Regions from separate parts of the Homo sapiens genome. Here region 1 is linked to region 2. Evidence: promoter capture Hi-C in 16 types of primary human blood cells and fetal thymus (Javierre and others, 2016). All regions are on one chromosome and are shown on one strand. Each heading gives the region's core, a stretch centred on a gene start or on the middle of the fragment in contact. The rest is flanking DNA. Distances are from core to core; before and after follow the strand shown. Region 1 overlaps LINC01619 (long intergenic non-protein coding RNA 1619). Region 2 holds the start of CLLU1 (chronic lymphocytic leukemia up-regulated 1).

The links. The method cuts DNA at HindIII sites, captures the fragments that hold promoters and counts their contacts. A CHiCAGO score of 5 or more calls a contact.
Region 1: a fragment that was not itself captured here is called in contact with the fragment with the promoter of CLLU1 in region 2 in 1 of 17 cell types (naive B cells); the score reaches 5.9 in naive B cells.

What each region holds. Positions count from the first base shown.
Region 1 is chr12:92,113,159-92,115,858 of GRCh38, reverse strand. All of the region lies in intron 1 of LINC01619 (long intergenic non-protein coding RNA 1619), which reads left to right. Among named protein-coding and RNA genes, the nearest start is that of LINC01619, 28 kb to the left of the region's middle. The HindIII fragment of the contact is 614 bases long and covers 1,046-1,659 here.
Region 2 is chr12:92,420,199-92,422,898 of GRCh38, reverse strand. CLLU1 (chronic lymphocytic leukemia up-regulated 1) reads right to left here and starts at 1,368. Exons shown (of 2, transcript NR_027933.1): 1 at 1,064-1,368. CLLU1-AS1 (CLLU1 antisense RNA 1) reads left to right here. Exons shown (of 3, transcript NR_144319.2): 2 at 1,726-1,885; 3 at 2,439-2,700. The HindIII fragment of the contact is 1,184 bases long and covers 1,298-2,481 here.

The DNA.
Region 1 (2,700 bases), core at 103-2,602, 310 kb after region 2:
AGAATTTTTTCCCTTTTTCTTTACATTGTATTACTTATGTTCTCTATATCCTTATTTATTTTTATCTATTTGACTTACTAAATTGTGATATAAAATTCCCAGGCTGGGTGCAATGACTCACACTTATAATCCTAGCACTTTGGGAGGCCAAGAGGAGAGGACTGCTTGAGCTCAGGAGTTTAAGACCAGCTTGGGCAACATAGTGAGACCCCGTCTCCATAAAAGGAATTAAGTTTTAATAAAACAATAATTAAGACAAATTAAAAAACTTAAATTCTGATATAAAATTCCCCATCATGACTGTGATTTTTTTAAAGGTTATACGTGTCTTTGTTACAGTTTTGTTTCATGTATTTTACTGCTGTAGATTTTGGTCTACAAGAATTCATGAATTATATTTTTAGATTTCATAATATGCCTCTTTTTCCTGCTTAATGATATTGATCTTGAATTCTTATCTGATTTTGATTTTGACATTTCTGCTTTCTGTTTGCATATATTTACGTGGTGTAATTTTCCATGTGCCTTTATTTTAAAACTTCCTTTGTCATTTGGTTTTAGGCATGTTTCTTGAATATAGTAATAAGCTGGTGTATCCATTAGGATAATTTGGGTTGCAAATAATGCACAAGGGTTTAAAAAATGAAGTGAGATATGTTTGCTTTTATAAAGTTCTAGGACAGATCTAGTCCAGGCATGGTTTGTGTGTTGTGACTTGATTTCTCTCTATTATTTCAGCTTTCATTTCCTGGTGTGTTGTGCAGCTTCTCTCGTGGCAGCAAAATGGCCACAGAGGTTTGATTCCAGGCCTTTCATGTGTTTACACCTTACAGTCCAGCAGAAGAAAGAGCTCCTCTTCTGAAAACCTTGAAAGCTCTTGAATCTTATGTCTAATCCCCCAACAAATCACTATGATGGCATGCCATACCACACTGAGTCTGGGTCTGTGCTACTTATCCTTGAACCAATCACTTTGGTGAGGGGATCGGTATTATGATAAATGGTTAGTTTATGTAAATTAAGGCTGAAGCCTAAAATTGAAGCTTGAGATTCATTCCCACTCAAGTTAATGTGCTATTATTCGAAGGAACAGAGTAAGTACTATAAATATTGGAAAGAAGTTAGCACATTTCTCACTGCTGGAAAACCATACAATTCCATATCTTCAAAAGCCAAATGGATCAACTCATAAAGTATATCAGAAATAATCAGAAATAAGTAAGATTATTTTTACAAGATTAATAATGGAAAAAATTCAATCATTTTTATATAAAAATAACCAATTAGAAAATATAATTAAAGGAACTATTTCATTTATTAGATATAAAATATACTGAAATAAATTTATTAAGAAACATGCACTATTTATATGAAAATACATGCAGTTTCACTGAGAGATCTAAGATGTTTCTAGCTAAAAGAGCTCAACATTATAAAGATATGTGTTCTCCTTAAATTTGTTTCTAAAATTATTGCAATCCTAATCAAAATCACAATGATTTTCTTTTTTGGGGAGGTAGATCTGGCTGGGGGAGGTAGATCTGGCTGTCAAGACAAAGGTTTTAAAGTCTATATGATAAAACTAATTATGCTAGGCTAGCCCCGAAAAACCAAACAGACAAGCCCAGGCATCATGGGCCTGTGTGAAAGAAAGAAGCTTTTGCTGACTGTATATATAAAACATAATATAATATAAAGCTATAGTAATTAAAAACAATGGAATACTGGTACAAAAATAAATAAATAGAACAGAACAGGAAATTCAGAAAAAAACCAAAGTAATATAAAAGTGGCTTAGCATATTAATGGAACTGGTTCTATGGTATTTATTTTAGACTTCAATAAGCCATGTGTCTAAAACAAATGAGTGTAATAATCTCTAAGGTAACAATAAAATGAAATAAAATAATGTATAGCTACCAAGTTAATAGAAGGTAAAAAATGGAATCATAAAAAAAGAAAGAAAAAATAATATAGACAGATAGTATAGATAAAAAGCAAATAGCAAAGTCATAGACCTAAGTGCATTAATAATAATTATATTAAAGTAAATGGGCTAAATCCTTAATGCAACTAAAAGACCAATACTGTCAGACTAGATTAAAATAAAAACAAACAAGAACTAACTGTATGTTGTTTATAAGAAAAATACCTAACATATACTGAAGAGGTTGAATATAAAAAGATGGAAAATTCTATCATGCAAAAACTAACCAAAAGAAAGCTGTGATGGCTGTATTATTAAAAGTAAGTTTATGAAAAGTGGAGAGGAAATAGTTAGTGGGAGGAGGAGAAGAGGGAGAGCAGGAAAACAGTATAAGTAATGCTTATGAGGTAGCCTGGCTCTCTATTGAGGAGGGGGGGGCAGAATAGAGGGTAAGTGGGCCAGTGAGTGTGTAGCCCGTGTGCTAGAAACTAGTGGGAGATGACATAGAATTGGAAAGATGGATCCAGATTAGGGAAAGCCTACAAATTCTGGATTTGGTCATGAATTTAATAAATGAGAATCTGGTGTATCTATCTTTAGTAGTAGTGAAAAATCAGAATTTAAAACTTGTTATTGTCAACACTATTAACAGCCTTTAGATGATTAGAAAAACTCTATTCCTTTATCTACTGTTAAAGTCTTCAATAAAACATCATATTTTCCTTGACCAGCCACATATAGTGTAGTGGTTGTTAATTGGGGATTTGCCTGGG
Region 2 (2,700 bases), core at 119-2,618:
CAGGGACTGTATACCCGAATGTTTCCCATAATCATTTTCATGTTGAATTCAATGTTTGTTAAGGAACAGGTAATAAAAATATGCAAACTTGAAAGTATTTATATATTTAAAAGCTCAGTGGTGACCACAACAATTATTTAGAATTCAAACCAAGAAAATGTTTTTTCAGGGAAGAGTATTTGACCACTAGTATGATTTAGAATTATGATGCATGGCAATAATTATACCAAACTGCATTTCAGTGACTCTATTATTTTTTCAGATTCTCTACAGACAGTGCAGCCTAGTATCTCCCAGACTTGTACTTCCTATGGCCCTGCACTTGGGGCCCCACTGCCTGGTAGAAATGAAGGTTAGTGTTCGAAAGTATTTAAAGAATCCTGCTAATCCCTATTTTATCCATAAATGTCATCTGTCATAAAGAAACTTTTAGCAGTTTCTCAACTTCTGAGAGGTCTTGTGGGAGGTTTTGCCATAAAGTGCTCTTGTTGAGCTCTTGATATCTATAAGCTGATGCCCTGGGCTTGTCCCAAATGATGCCTCCCACCCATTCATCAGCAGGACACTATCCCAGTTCACACACCTATGCCCCATCTCCACATATGTTTCACCAAAACCATAAATTTTGAAATAGAGTCAATATAAATGTATAACATATTGTATTAGGGCTCTTCAGAGAAAAAGAACCAATAGTATATTTGTGTGTGTTTGTGTATGTGTGCGTATACAGTCATGCACTACACAATGACATTTCAGTCTACAAAGGATTGCATATATGATGGTGATCCCATAAGATTATACCATATTTTTACTGTACCTTTTCTACATTTAGATATGGTAGATACATACATACTTATCATGATGTTATACATACTTATCATGAGGTTACAAGCTACACCATGTAGCCTAGATGTGTAGTAGTCTATGCTGTCCAGGTTTGTGTAGTTACACTCTATGATGTTTGCACAATGATGAAATCACTTAACAATGCATTTCTCAGAACCTGTCTCCATTGTTAAGCAATGCATAACTGGATATGTAAATAAAATGGAAATTGACTCACACAATTATGGAGGCCAAGAAGTCCCATGATCTGCCATCTGCAAGCTGGAGAACCAGGAAACCTGGCAGTGTAATTCAGTCCAAGTCCAAAGAACTGAGAACCAGGGAAGCCAAAGGTGTAACTCCTGGTTTAAGTCTGAAGGCCCACTCACATCCAAGGGCAGGAGAAGATGATATACTAGATCAAGAAGAAAAGAAGCAAATTTTCCCTTCCTCTTTTTGTTTTATTCAAGCTTTCGACAGATTGGATGATGCCTGCCCTTATTGGTGAGAGCCGTCTGCTTTACTAAGTTCACCAATTCAAATGCTGATCTCTTCCGAAAACACTCTTATGGACACACCCAGAATAATGTTTTACCAGCTACCTGGTCATCCTTTAGCCTAGCCAGGTTGATGCATAAATTTAATTATCACACATATAGTCTTACCAATTAGTGACCTTTTCATTCTTTATGGTATTTAACAGTGAAGATTTGTAGATGGTCTGTCTACTTGGTTTTATAGGTTTTGATCAGCACTCAGAAGCTCAGTTTGATCACCCTAGTTTGGCCTGAGCTGAAAGCACTGAAACAGTGAGTTCTTTGGGTCTTACTTCTAGAAACCAGGAAATGAGAGAGATAGTGACTTGGTTTCTCTTATGTTTCCCTTTTGTTCTCTTCTCAGTGGCCTTGCTAACAAGTTTACCTCCAAACTATGAGATTTCAGAAGGAAAACCAAGAGCCATCTCTGCATATGTGAGAGCGGGCAAAGGAAATGTGACAAGGAGAAGAAAGAAGACACACTTGGGCAATGATGATGGGAAGAAGGAAGCACAGGAGAAAATGTAAGAAATGTACAGGTGAGAGAGATCAGGAGAAAGATGGGAAATGTGGGAGAGCAGCAGGAATCATAACAATAATAATGCCAATTTGGAAACGAGAACCAGTGTATAAAGCATACCAATAAGGCCAACGAAGTGCCAACGATGGAAAGCCACCCTATCAGGAGAAAGTAAAGTCATAGCAGATGTTTTATGAGACAGCTCAGAACACAATGACTGACCAAGAAAGCGGCACAAGTTAGAGGTGGAGAAATGACCCAGACCCAGACCTTTAGGGGTCCTGAACTTGGTTCATACCTCATGTCAGAAGGAGTAGTGACCAAAAGAAATTCTCTTTGCTTTAATTATAGAAGCAGGAATATACCTGATTTTGTATGTAACAGCATATGTTTAAGATCTGAATATTTCTATACCCAAAAGCATAATGTATTAGGGTTAATCATTTGAAATTGCCAATATGCACTCATTTTACCTATAAAAACTGTAATTTTGCATGGTTCAAACTAATAGATATGAAGATATTCTCAAGCAAACTTTTTTTTCTTTTGCCTTGAAGCCCATGAGGAAGATCCAAAGAGAACTTTGGCCTTAACTAAGCTTCCTACATTCTCCTGGAGTCGGTGGTTTATGAATGTGGTGCCATCTGGGGAACTGACAACCCCTGATGTGTTCACTCTGCTCGTCTTCCAGGTGAGAGAAGAAGAAGGCGAGAAAGAAAGAGAAGTTCCAGAATTTCACAGGCTGAGGGAGATGGTAGTAACTTCTGTTTATGTTGGTTTCTGTTTATTGGTTTGCTTTTTATTTTGAACTCGTTTGAC